5 separate regions of the Homo sapiens genome follow, and regions 2, 3, 4 and 5 are each linked to region 1. The links are contacts of gene promoters, found by promoter capture Hi-C in blood cells and fetal thymus (Javierre and others, 2016). All regions are on one chromosome and are shown on one strand. Each heading gives the region's core, a stretch centred on a gene start or on the middle of the fragment in contact. The rest is flanking DNA. Distances are from core to core; before and after follow the strand shown. Region 1 holds the start of GMPR (guanosine monophosphate reductase). Region 2 overlaps DTNBP1 (dystrobrevin binding protein 1). Region 3 has its middle 55 kb from the start of DTNBP1. Region 4 has its middle 3.2 kb from the start of DTNBP1. Region 5 has its middle 20 kb from the start of DTNBP1.

The links. The method cuts DNA at HindIII sites, captures the fragments that hold promoters and counts their contacts. A CHiCAGO score of 5 or more calls a contact.
Region 2: a contact is called between a fragment that was not itself captured here and the fragment with the promoter of GMPR in region 1, in 1 of 17 cell types (naive CD4 T cells). The highest score is 5.1, in naive CD4 T cells.
Region 3: a fragment that was not itself captured here is called in contact with the fragment with the promoter of GMPR in region 1 in 2 of 17 cell types (total B cells and naive CD4 T cells); the score reaches 5.8 in total B cells.
Region 4: a contact is called between a fragment that was not itself captured here and the fragment with the promoter of GMPR in region 1, in 1 of 17 cell types (naive CD8 T cells). The highest score is 6.2, in naive CD8 T cells.
Region 5: a contact is called between a fragment that was not itself captured here and the fragment with the promoter of GMPR in region 1, in 14 of 17 cell types (naive CD4 T cells, total CD8 T cells, total B cells and 11 more). The highest score is 13.9, in naive CD4 T cells.

The regions. Positions count from the first base shown.
Region 1 is chr6:16,237,201-16,239,900 of GRCh38, reverse strand. GMPR (guanosine monophosphate reductase) reads right to left here and starts at 1,314. Exons shown (of 9, transcript NM_006877.4): 1 at 1,121-1,314. The coding sequence starts at 1,207. RefSeq lists silencers at 1,212-1,311, 1,432-1,531. The HindIII fragment of the contact is 2,876 bases long and covers 523-2,700 here.
Region 2 is chr6:15,647,568-15,650,267 of GRCh38, reverse strand. The region is part of intron 3 of DTNBP1 (dystrobrevin binding protein 1); the gene reads left to right. Among named protein-coding and RNA genes, the nearest start is that of DTNBP1, 14 kb to the left of the region's middle. The HindIII fragment of the contact is 1,313 bases long and covers 654-1,966 here.
Region 3 is chr6:15,716,933-15,719,646 of GRCh38, reverse strand. No RefSeq gene overlaps it. Among named protein-coding and RNA genes, the nearest start is that of DTNBP1, 55 kb to the right of the region's middle. The HindIII fragment of the contact is 1,392 bases long and covers 596-1,987 here.
Region 4 is chr6:15,664,904-15,667,603 of GRCh38, reverse strand. No RefSeq gene overlaps it. Among named protein-coding and RNA genes, the nearest start is that of DTNBP1, 3.2 kb to the right of the region's middle. The HindIII fragment of the contact is 444 bases long and covers 1,078-1,521 here.
Region 5 is chr6:15,681,186-15,683,885 of GRCh38, reverse strand. No RefSeq gene overlaps it. Among named protein-coding and RNA genes, the nearest start is that of DTNBP1, 20 kb to the right of the region's middle. The HindIII fragment of the contact is 472 bases long and covers 1,174-1,645 here.

The DNA of each region.
Region 1 (2,700 bases), core at 65-2,564:
CCTACGTCCTCCAGTCCTGCCGGGCTCCAAACCAGCCAATGCTGCTGCTTACAGAAGGCCACTTGGTTTAGTCATTGGCTAACGCGGAGGCTTCCCCAATCCAAGCAAGCCCTCGGCTGGCAGCCCCAGGCACTGCAGTTAGGCCTGGCACCGGAGTGGGCAGCGGACTTCTTTGCTGAGGGGATTTATTTATGGTCTTGTTTGTGGAGCTGAGTGGACGGAGCTGTGCAGGTTGGCCCAGCCTCCTCGTGTTTACTCCTTCAGCCCCAGCCTTCAACCGTGTCCGGTTTCCTCACCTTCCTCTCCAGCTCTCAGCAAAGCCAGTCACCAGCGCACACCACCCCGGGGCACTCTGCCTTTCAGGCAACTAGTTTATCCTTCAGGGACTGGCCTCCCTTCCCCCAGCCTCAGGCTATTTCCAGTCCGGTCTCCACCTGTTCCTTAGGATTTGAGGACATCCAGGCAGAACCAGGGAAATGCCCGAGGCTTCCAATTCGCCCCCACCTCTCTCACCCCAAAGCTTTCGAAACTCTTCTCCAGGGCTAGGCTGGGACCGCGGGCTGTCCAGTACCGCTGAGTCCCCAAGCCCCACTGCCAGCAAGGCCGCCAAACTCAGAAAGGAAACCCTGAACTTGTGCCCTGGGTTCTGGTTTTTCAGACGCGTTCACGAAGTTCCACCGCTGGACCCGAAGCGAAAGCAGCAGCAATTATCAGCACTAGGAGACGCAGCCAAAAATCACCGGGATCTGCAGTTGTTTTTCTCGTCCTCTCTCCCCTAGCTCCAGTTTCCTTTTCTTGCTATAAGCGCCCTCGTACCCCTATTCCTTCTAAACCAACTGGCCACTGGATCTCGCTCATCTGTGGTCGAGTTTCACTGTGAACTTCCCCTAGGCCACCCAACGGGACCGACGTGTAGAGAATTTCATGGGCCCCCGTATCACCGCCCTTAAAGACACCTCACGTCCTGGCAGGTGCTGGGGCGCGGGAACGGGGGCGCAGCGCCCCAGTCTCAAACACCAAAGCAGGCAGGGTAACCCGGTGCCACCCCCTTCCACCCACTTGCCCCGCGCCACCCGGAAAAAAAAATCCCACCCCACTGCGACTTCCGAACGTCCCCCACCTCGGCTCGGCTCTTGAGGCTGCTCCGCTTAGGTCGGAGCAGGACATCCTTGAAGTCGAGCTTGAGGTCCGCATCTATGCGGGGCATGGTGCAGCGGCTCCTGGCTGCGGCGGCGGCGACGGCGGGGCGGGGGCGCCTGCGCGGGGCGGCGCGGGGAGCGCCGGGGCTGCTGTGCCGCGGCCGGGAGCTGGCGTGGGCCGGGTGCGCACGCCGCGGTCTTAAACACGCCCCGCCGACCCGCGGTCACGCTTGGCCCGCCCCGGGCACCGCCTCCGCCTCAGGCAGGGGTTGAGAGGCAGACTGGTTAGGGACAGATTGGCGGCGAAGCCCTTCCTCCTCGCGCCGCCGCCCCCGTCCTTCCCCCTCAGGTGTACAGCCCGTGGCAGTGACCGAATGGGGACGGGGGAGGGAAATGCGCACCGTTCTGTTTGTCCCCAGGGTCCCCGATGGAGAGGGGACTTAGCGTGTGGCTGCCTTATCCAAGGGAAAAGTCGCTCCCTGAGAGCTTTTACTTTTTTTTTTTTTTTTTTGAGACAGTCTCACTGTCGCTCAGGCTGGAGTGAGTGGCGCTATCGCCGCTCATCGCAGCCTCGACTTCCTGGGCTCAAACGATTCTCATGCCTCAGCCTCCTCGAGTACAGGCGCACGCCGCCACACCCAGCTTATTTTAAAAATTATTTCCTAGAGGCGGGGTTTCACCATATTGCCCAAGCTGGTCTCGAGCCCCTGACCTCAAGTGATCCGCCTGCCTCGGCCTCCCAAAGTGCTGGGATTACAGGCGTGAGCCACCGTGCCCGGCGGATTCTCCTTTTTTAAAATTCAAGCCCGGTGTGCTCACCCAGTGTTGAGGAGCACGTCTCTCACTTGCCAAAGAACCAGAAACCCCAGGGAGGTTGTATAGAATTAAGGAAAAGAACGTGGGCAGTTAACTGTTTAGCTGTACTGGGATTGTGGAGGCCATGATTCCCTTTGGACTTGTTGTTAAGAGACAAGGTCTCACTGTGTTGCCCAGGCTGGTCTTGAACTACTGGGTTCAAGCAATCCTCCCGCCTCAGCTTCCCAGTGTTGGGACTACTGGCGTGAGCCACTGCGCCCAGCCTGGATTTCAGGATTTTTGTTTAAGAAAAACAGTGAGGTCTGTAGTCGACGCAGATCCTGAGATTTGAGGAGCCTGAGTCCCCTCTGAGGGTTACCAGTGATGTGAGTTCGAGGGGTTACCAGTGATGTGAGTTCATTGATTCACTTATTGACCTTACCGACCTTTTATTATACATTTGAAATGTGCTGCCGGGCTTCATGCATCATCTCATTCACTCTCAGAACAACCCAATGAAGAAAGAGCCATTTCACAGATAAGGAAAAACGAGGCTTCTATAAATGAAATAACTTGCCTAAGGCCGCAGAAAAATTCAATATAAATTTCTCAGTCCTTAAAACTTGCTACAACTATTCACTGAAGCTGCTTTTGTCCTGGAACATCTCTGCCTGAGTTTGAAACCTGGTTCCACCACTGTCTAGCTAGGTGACCTTAGGGGAGTCAATTTCTCTAAGTCTCAGTTTTCTCATAAAAGGGGTGGGGG
Region 2 (2,700 bases), core at 61-2,560, 590 kb after region 1:
GTATATGGTTAAAGTATGTCATTATACATATTTCTGTGCTTACTAATGTGCCATTTGACAGATGTGTGGTAAAGATGTATGTGGGAGAGGGTATGCTGCTTTTCCTTATCTGTATTTGTTATGACACAATCACTGATACCTACATTTTCCTTTCTCCTTTCTAGTTCTTCATTAGGTTTCTTTTTATGGTTGCTAAATCTAGAGATTTTTCTTCTCTGAAGTGAAAAGTGCTTAATATGATATTTGCTTCCTTTGTTTTGTTGTGTGAAGAACAGAAATGAACATGAAAGGAAGTGTAGTACAAATTAATCAGTAATGTATTGTTTACTATTTACATTTTATCTTTATTTTTTCTCTAGAAACTTAGTTGAAATAACTTCATTTTACTGAAAAATTTATGTTAGAGCTATCAACTTTTTGTGTGGTACATTTTTTGGGGATAGGGTTGCATTTTAGGAGTTAATATAGAAAATTTACATCCGTAAGACGGTGTCAATAATGTGTTTATACATCGCACTGAAACAGTCTTTTCCCATTGGAACTAAAATTGAATGTGAGAAAGACCATTTTAAATAGCAAATGTTTAAATCATATTTTTAATTTTAAAAATGTAATATACATAGCATAAAATGTATCTTAACCATTCTTAAGCTTAGTAGTGCTGAGTACGTTCACATGGTTGTGCATCCAATCCCAAAAACTCTTTTCATCTTGCAAAATGGAAACTCTGTACCTGTTAACCAACAACTCTCATTTCTACTCCCTCCTCTCCATCCCAGGCAACCATCATTCTATTTGCTTTCTCTGTGAATTTGACTATTCTAGGAACATCATATAAGTGCAATTATAAAGTACTTTTGTGTGTGACCGGCTTATTTCATTTAGCATAATGTTTTCAAAGTTTATGTTGCAGCATGTGTCAGAATTTTCTTTCTTTGAAAAGCTGAATATTCTATTGTAAGTATGTACCATATTTTGTTTATTCATCTGTTGATGGACACTTGAGTTGCTTCCACTTTTTGGCTGTTCTAAATACTGCTTGCTGCTAGGAACATGAGTGACAAGTACCTTTTTGACACCTTGCTTTCAGTTCCTTTGGGTATATACCCAGCAGTAGAATTACTGGATCATACGGTAATTCTGTGTTTTATTCTTTCTGGAAACACCATACTGTTTTCCATAGTGACTGTATCATTTTACTTTCCCATCAGTATTGTATAAAGGTTCTAATTTCTTCCTATCCTCACCAACGCTCGCTATTTTCTTGTTTTTTATTATAGCTACTCTAATGAGTATGAGGATTTTCCCCTGTGTTTTCTTCTAAGAGTTTTTCTTGTCAAGATTGTTTTGGCTGTTGAAGGTCATTTGAGATTTCATATGAATTTTAAGATGTATTTTCTATTGTTTGCAAAGAATGTCATTGGGGTTTTGATTGGGATTAAATTGAATCTGGTCATTTTGCTTATTACAGATAACAATGTTAAGTATTCCAATCCATTAACATGGAGTGCTTTTTCTATTTATTGATGTCTTCTTTAATTTCTTTCAGTATTGTTTAGTAGTTTTCATTGTATGAGTCTTTCATCATCTTTGTTAATTCCTAAGTATTTTTTGATGCTATCATTTATGAAATTGTTTTCTTAATTGCTTTTTTTGAATTATTTATTGGTAGTATATAGAAACAACTGACTTAATTGTTGTGTGTTGATTTAATATCATACTTTGCTGAGTTCCTTTATCCTGATAGTTTTTTGTGTGGAACTTTCAGGGTTTTCTGCATATAAGATCATATCATTTATGAATAGAAATCATTTTGCTTCATTCATTCCAATTTGAATACCTTTTATTTCTTTTTTCTTGCCTAATTGCTCTGGCTAGACCATCCAGTACTGTGTTGAATCGAAGTGGAAAAAGCAGGCATCCTTGTCTTGTTCCTTGTCTTGATCCTGATCTTACAGGAAAAGCTTTCAGTCTTTCAACATTGAGTATAATGTCAACTATGAATTTTTATTATGTTGAGATTGTTCCCTTCTACTTTAGTGTTTTTATCATGAAAGGATGTTGAATTTTGTCAAATAACTTTTCTCCATGAATTAGGATGACCATGTGTTTTTTCCTTTCGTTCTACCAATCTGTCATATTATTACATTGACAGATTTTCATATGTTGAGCCATTCTTGCATTCCAGGAATAAATCCCTCTTGGAAATTGTGTATAATGCTTTTAACACAGTGCAGAATTTAGTTTGCCAGTATTTTGTTGAGGATTTTTGCATTAGTATTCATAAGGGGTATTGGTCTGTAGTTTCCTTTTCTTGTATGCCTTTGGCTTTGGTATCAGGGTAATGCTGGCTTGTAGAATGAGTTAGGATTTATTCCTTCCTCTTCATTTTCTTTTTAAAAAGATTTTGAGAATGGTCAATGTTGGTTCTTTTTTAAATGTTTGGTAGAATTCACCAGTGAAGCAATCAAGTCCAGGGTATTTCATCTTGAGGTTTTTTATTACTGATTCAGTTTCCCATTTCTTCAGGATTCAGTCTTGGTATGTTTTGTGTTTGTGGGAATTTGTCCACTTCAGCTAGGTTATACAGTTTGTTAGCATACATTGTTCATAGCACTCTCTCATAATCCTTTTTATTTCTGTAAGATTCGTAGTAATAGTCCCACTTCATTATGGTTTTAGTAACTTGAGTCTTTTTTT
Region 3 (2,714 bases), core at 42-2,541, 520 kb after region 1:
TCTAAGTGGGAAAATAATGCATTATTTAATAAATGGTGGTGATACAAATAATCTAAGTGGAAGAAAATTAAATTAGATCTCTTTGTTTTACCATATATGAAGACAAATTTCAGGCTAAATGGCTAAAAGACTTAAATGTAGAATATTAACAACTTAAAATTCTGCAAGAAAATTTAGGAGACAATATGTGGACAAGATTGGAAAAACAGATGACACAAAATAAAAAATAGAGATTTTATCATAAATTTAAAACAATTTTATAGCTTAAAAACATAAGAGTCGGGCACAGTGGCTCACGCCTGTAATCCCAGCACTTTGGGAGGCTGAGCCGGGTGGATCACCTGAGGTCAGGAGTTCGAGACCAGCCTGACCAACATGGAGAAACCCTGTCTCTATTAAAAATACAAAATTAGCTGGACGTGGTAGCGTACGTCTGTAATCGCAGCTACTCGGGAGGCTGAGGCAAAAGAATCACTTGAACCCTGGAGGCAGAAGTTGCAGTGAGCCGAGATCATGCCATTGCACCGCAGCCTGGGCAACAAGAGTGAAACTCCATCTCAAAAAAAAAAAAAAAAACCTTAAAGAGTTATAAGCTTGGACAAGTACTTGCAATTCAGAGGACATATGAGGTTAGTTATACCATGCAAAAGTTTCTTTCAAATTAAAAGTAAGGAATAAACAAACAAAAACTTTGGCAAAGGACATGAAGAGACTGTTCATAAGAGGACAAATTCAAATGGTCAGCAACGTATGAGAAGATCAAACTTGCTAGCAGTTGAGAAAATGCAAATTAAAATAAAATTATAAGGTATCTTTTATTCCCAACAGAATGGCAAATGTTTTAAAGAATTATAATGCCTATCACTGGCAAAAATGCTAATTGATAGAAATGTTAATTATTTCGGCTTTTTGGGAAAGCAATCGGGCAACATCTATTACATTTAAATACACATGTACATGCAAACACACACACACATGCACACACACACCTCTTCTTAGTATATAGGGAAACAAAGAAAACCTCATATTTAATGGTAAAATTTTGAAAGCATTCCCTTCGAGATCAAAAACAAAACAAAGATTTCTGGTAAAACTTCTCTAATTAGCATTAATCTAGTTCCTAGTAAGAGCAGGTTAAATAAGGGAAGATTTTTTTGTTTTGTTTTTTGGTTTTGATTTTGTTTTTGTTTTTTGTTTAGAGACGGAGTCTCACTCTACCGCCCAGGCTAGAGTGCAGTGGTGCAATCTCGGCTTACTGCAACCTCCGCCTCCCGGGTTCAAGAATTCTCCTGCCTCAACCTTTTGAGTAGCTGGGACTACAGGCACCCGCCACCACACCCAGCTAATTTATAAGGGAAAGTTTTAAGAATTGTCAGAAAAGACTTTCATTATTTTTCAGATAAGAAAATTATGTCTAGAGAAATTGAAAGAATCCAGAGAAATTATAAGAATTAGAGAGTTTAGCAAATTTGCTTTACACAAAATTACTGTCTGTATAATGAATCTTATTTCTGAATACCAGCCACCAAATAATTAGAAAATAAACAATTTTTAATTTCTTATTTGTAGTAGCATTAAAAATAGTAGATGTCAAGGAGTAATCTACCAGAAAATATATAAGATTATGGAGAAAACTATAACATCTTTTAGAGAACTTAAAGACTACACAAATAGAGAGACAAGGTATTCTCATAGATTGGAATACACATGCCAGTTCTCCCCAGTTTAATAGATTTGGTGCAATCTCAGTCAAAACTCCAACAGATCTTTTTTTTATGAAACTCAACAAGTTGATTCTAAAATTTAAGTAAAAACACAAATGGCCAAGATAGTTAAAATCCTCTTGAAGAACAAAGTGAAAGGATAGCTCCACCAGATAGCAAGAATTTATAAATGTATAAAACCAAGAGAGTATAGTATTGGCTTAGAGATAGACAGACTAATGGAACAGAGCCCAGAAACAGAATTCATTATCAAGTTACAAGCTTTTTCTCAAGAATTATAACTTGTCCAGTGGGATGTGACTTTAAAACCCAAAGGACCTTCCCTGTAATTTTCCTACCAGACTTTTCCAAAGGGTCCATACGATATATTTTCTGCCACAAGCACTTTGAGCATCATTGGATCCTCTGGTAATAAGGGGCAAGGGGCAAAACCGCTTTGTATCAATGCCTTGACAAGTTGGAGAGATTTGCTGTGGGCCCCACTCAAAGCTAACAGCCTTGCTGGTCACCCGATAAATGAGTCCATATAATACCTTTGTATAAGGAGCAACAAATCCAACCATAATAGTTTAACCAAATAGAGGTTGATTTTTGTCACATACTAAGGAGTCTGGAGGTAGATTGCAACAGTGTGTCAGGATCCTTCTATCTTTCTGCTCTACCATCCTGCACTTATGATCTGTGCTCAGCTGATTTCTTTGGGTTCATGGGCACAGGATGGCTACCCCAGCTCCAGATAGGAGAAGGGAGGGAGATAGGAAGAGGTGGCACCTTTTCCAGAAATCTAGAGAGCATGTCACAGTAACCAGACTTTGATACTTGTTGATTCCTAGCTGCAAGGGAGTCTAATATTTTTAACTGGATACACTGCTGCCCAAACAGAATTGGGGTTCTGTTAAAAAGGAGAAATCCATATTGGTAAACAGTTAGTAGTTGTCTGCCATAGGATCCAAACGTGGTATGTATTATTTCCAAAATTCAAAAACACCT
Region 4 (2,700 bases), core at 50-2,549, 570 kb after region 1:
ACCAATGAGTGAGAACATGCGGTGTTTGGTTTTTTGTCCTTGCGATAGTTTGCCGAGAATAATGGTTTCCAGCTTCATCCATGTCCCTACAAAGGACATGAACTCATCATTTTTTTCACTGCATAGTATTCCATGGTGTATATGTGCCACGTTTTCTTAATCCAGTCTATCATTGTTGGACATTTGGGTTGGTTCCAAGTCTTTGCTATTGCGAATAGTGCCACAATAAACATATGTGTTCATGTGTCTTTATAGCAGCATGATTTACAGTCCTTTGGGTATATACCCAGTAATGGGATGGCTGGGTCAAATGGTATTTCTAGTTCTAGATCCCTGAGGAATCGCCACACTGACTTCCACAATGGTTGAACTAGTTTACAGTCCCACCAACAGTGTAAAAGTGTTCCTATTTCTCCACATTCTCTCCAGCACCTGTTGTTTCCTGACTTTTTAGTGATCGCCATTCTAACTGGTGTGAGATGGTATCTCATTGTGGTTTTGATTTGCATTTCTCTGATGGTCAGCGATGATGAGCATTTTTTCATGTGTCTTTTGGCTGCATAAATGTCTTCTTTTGAGAAGTGTCTGTTCACATCCTTTGCCCACTTGTTGATGGGGTTGTTTTTTTCTTGTAAATTTGTTTGAGTTCATTGTAGATTCTGGATATTAGCCCTTTGTCCGATGAGTAGATTGCAAAAATTTTCTCCCATTCTGTAGGTTGCCTGTTCGCTCTGATGGTGGTTTCTTTCGTACCACCCCTTCTTTAATAGCATCTTTCTCTTTGGTTCTAACTCCGCCAAATCCTCATTTATCACTTTGTCTCCAATAAGAATCTGCTGAGACAGGAAACCCCCTTTCATCAACGAGTAGGGCTTCTCAAATGTTAACATGAATAAAAATCACCCGGGGGGTCTTAATAAAACTCAGATTCTGATTCAGTAGGGCTGGCTGGGGCCTACGATTCTACCTTTGCAGGAAGCTCCCAGATGATGCGGCTGCTGCTGGTCAGGGAAGCACTATTTCAGGAAACTTCTTAGCAGCTTTGGTGCTCACCCCAAACGTTGTATCACCAAAGCTTTTCCTGGGCGCAACTAATATGCTCTCAAAAAATCAACTCTCTGCTGGGCGCGGTGGCTCATGCCTGTAATCCCAGCATTTTGGGAGGCCAAGGCAGGCGGATCACTTGAGGTCAGGAGTTTGAGACCAGCCTGTCCAACATAGTGAAACCTTGTCTCTACTAAAAATACAAAAATTAGCTGGGCGTGGTGGCGGAAGCCTGTAATCCCAGCTACCCAGGAGGCTGAGGCAGGAGAATCACTTGAACCCAGGAGGTGGAGGCTACAGTGAGCCAAGATTGCACCACTGCACTCCAGCCTAGGTGACAGAGGGAGACTCCGTCTTAAAACAAAACAAACAAAAAAACCCCAAACAAACAACAATCAACTCTCAACCAATTCCTGAATTAAGATTAGGTCAATAGCTTCCATACTGATGTTGGTTCTCAAACTGTACTTAAAAGCTTTGTTTTTTTTTTCATTTTGCCAATCCATCTTCCTAGTTTCTGGCTGATTACTGTTACTTATGTAAACACGACATGTCACATGCTTCAACTCTTGGTCCTTAATCATTCCTCCTGAGCAACTCATGTACAACAGTAGTTATTTTCTAATTTTTTTAATATTTACTTCTTTAAATCATAAATTATCTTTTTATTAGCACTTTTAAAACTTTCACTGTTTTTTAATTTAATAGATATGATGGAATTAAGAATGTTCAGAAAGCACCTCAAATACAAACATGCCATAGACTAATAAACAGTGCATTGGTCAAGACAGAAATGATCAGGCACAACCAGTAAAGCTATTTTTTAGTGACAGGCAAGAGTCTTTTTTGAGTGGATTTGGTGCTTTGTTGGAATGTATGAAACTTAGTAAATTGAAAGCTTATGTGTAGAGTTTAATTGAATAAAAGAAAAAAATTTAATATTTCCCAGTACTTGTGGTTTTCAAATCTACTAGATACTAAGGGACCTGTCTGTAGATTTGATCATTTGATCACTTGCTTTGTTCCAGGCACTGTTTCTGAGAGGTAGAAGAAGGCTCAATAAACAGCACTCCTCTTTCTTACTTGTCTGAGCAAACTGAGAAATAAAACAATAGTGTCAGCATAAAGAGGCCAAAATATCACTTTTATATCTAGGAAGACTGATGGAACACATGGCTTATATTCATGGGCAAGCAGAACTTCTAGTACCCAGTCACAAAAAGCACTGGGTTGCCCTTCAAGCCTGTCTTTAGGCAGCAGAATGAATGCTCTTTGTTGGAAGTGTTCACTCAACAAAAAGAAAAGAAGATGAGACCAAGCTCCTTACTTCTAGCTCACTAATCATCGTAGTCACCTCTTCCCCACCAGGAGAGGCTGGGTACTTCTTTATGTTAGCAGAAGAGCTCCCTTCCCATGGAAGAAAACATCAAGAGTGGGGAAGAGGTGGTCCCCCAGCTACAAGCTAAGTCCTTTATCTTATTTAACTCCTGCAACAAGACATTTACTGGGTGTCTGTTATGTGCCATTCACTGTTTTCATTGCTGGGGATGCAAAGCTTAATAAGACAGAGCAGTTTACATCTGGGCCTGTACTTGTGCTACTTACCTCACTGGCCTCATCCAATCCCAGCCCTAACAGATCCTGTGTATTTAAAAT
Region 5 (2,700 bases), core at 160-2,659, 560 kb after region 1:
TAGCATTGTCTGAACCAACAAGAGAGACTTCCCTGAGTAAGTGGCCTCCAAGTCAAGCCTGAGGGATGAATTGAGTTAAAGGGATATCAAGGGCACATGCTCAGGATTAGGGCCAGGAAGAGAGGTTTTCTTCAAATGATATTACAGCCATGCTGTAGCCACAAGAACCATTCAGCAAGATCATGTGTGCTTTGCTCCCTCAAGCCCTTTTTTCCTGTATGTGGACTTTGTCCCTGATTGAAATTCTCTCCAGATTCAGTTAATGCCACTTCCTCTTTTAAGCTTTCACTGACTCTAAGAAAAGTTAGACACCCCTGCCCTGTGTGCTTGTGTGTTACTGACACATCAAAGGTACTTGTTAAATATTCATTGGATGTTCAGCAAATAAATATAACGGCGCCTTATTCAGTAACACTCTTTTGCTTGTCCAACCCATCACCAGACTCTGAGCTCCCTGGAGCAGAGGCTGTGTCTTGCTCATCCTCTATCACGATGCTGGATTTGTGGCACTTTAAAAATGTTTGTTGAATGAATGCATGAGGTTAGTAATGAGGATAAGAATAAGGGCTGTGATAAAGGAGACCTATGAGATGAGGTTTCAACGTAAGTTGAGGTCAGATCGTGGAAGACCTTAAATATCCTTTGAAGGAGTTTGCACTTCGTCATGTGGGGCGTGGTGGAGCTGCTAAAAGTGTCTGAGCCAGACTGATTTGATTAGAACTGTGCTTCATGAAGGTAACATTGGAGAGGCTGGGGGCAGGGGCCAACTGGGAAGTTGCTTAGATTAGTGGTAGTAGAAAGGGACAGGAAGGAGGGAAAAGCTGCAAGGGGATGATTGGCTGCATCAGAACCTGAGAACTCATTTCAAGTGAGAGAATCACTCTGGGGCATTTGCCCCCAGAGGCTGCAGTTCACATAAACTCTCTGTAAAGTTTCTTAAGAATTCTCCAGAGGAACATGAGTTTTCTAGTTAGGTAATTAAGAAATAGCTATGTTCTCAAGAGAATAGCTGAATGCCCTAGATAATTTCTCTAATTTTGATTTAGCAAATGCGTGAGACAACTATGCCATCCTTCCTTTTTGGCTGATGCCCACTTCCTTCAGACTAAATAACCATTTAACCATTTAATCACATTGCAGCAGCATCAGTCACCTATGTCGTCTTTAGAAGCTTCACTATGTCAGCTCCTGGATTTGGGCTTCCCTCTGCTAACTAGAGTTTATGGCTCATTTTTATTGCTCCATCTCCTAGTAGCTGTAATTTCCAATACTGTAGATGATGCTGTGGTTTTGTTTGTTCATTAAAAGTAAGTAAGTCCAAAAGAAAAGGGAGCATACCAAAAACTTACGCTGTATTGCAAATTTTATACCAGAAGTCAGGAATGAGAAAATGTAAGGTTCTCCAGGCATTTAAATGTTAATTTCTCTGCCCTGCATATGTTTCAAAAGATGTTCCAAATCTGATCCTGAATCCAAACTAATCATCCATAATGTGGGCGGGTTAGCATTAGCATAATTTATCTTCTGATTTTTTAATTTCATAAACAATATTTATACATAACTATTCTGTATACTCCTGAACATTTACGAGGGCCTATCATGTGCCAAACTCTTCTGTATTTTGTATCTTCATGTACCTAAAGCTTTCATCTTCACACAACTCCTGCAAGATGCTGTGTTATTATCTCTATTTTACAGTTGAAGAAACAGGCTCAGAATGGTTCATTGACTTGCCTGAGGCCACACAGCTGAAAGGTGATGGAGCCTGTGGGAAATTCAAGTCACCTTGGCTCCAAGCCCCACTCCACCATGCTGCCTTTCTCTAAGATTGAACCAGAACTCTACAACTCAGCAAAAAGGTTGAAAGTCTTCCCTAACATAGGTGAATAAAATTAAAGCTATCTTTCATTCTGTCCTTTCATCCAAGCAGAGAACAAGCCTCAGTAAGTTTACCAGTTTGAGCAAAAAAACCTGATTCCCAACAGCAAACAGTATGACCACAAAATGTGTGCCCACATGAAAGTCATTTCCTCAATGGAATGATCTGTGCAGCAAACCACCATGGCACACGTTTACCCATGTAACAAACCTGAACATCCTTTATAAGTACTCCGAACTTAAAAGTTGGAAATTAAAAGAAAGTCATTTACTCTTTTTAATGAAACCCTTTTCTCAGAAGGTTGTGGCCCTGTGTCAAATGTGACTGGACAATATGATTGTAACAATACTGCAGGCCTCAGTGGACTGTTTCATAAGAAATCTCTCGGCTGGGCACAGTGACTCAAGCCTGTAATCCCAGCACTTTGGGAGGCCGAGGTGGGCGGATCACCTGAGGTCAGGAGTTCAAGACCAGGCTGGCCAACATGGTGAAACCTTGTCTCTACTAAAAATGCAAAAATTAGCTGGGTGTAGTGGCAAGTACCTGTAATCCCAGCTACTCTGGAGGCTGAGGCAGGAGAATCGCTTGAACCCAGGAGACAGAGGTTGCAGGGAGCCGAGATCGCACTACTGAATTCCAGCCTGGGTGACAGAGCAAGACTCCGTCTCAAAAAAAAGAAACCTCTCACACCATATAAGCACTCTTTCTGTATATAATGATAAATACTTTGTTATTATATGGAACAATTCTCCAAAGCACTTAAAGATCATTGATTGCACATTAATATTTACAACAGCCCTACAAGTACTTTCTTTTTTCTT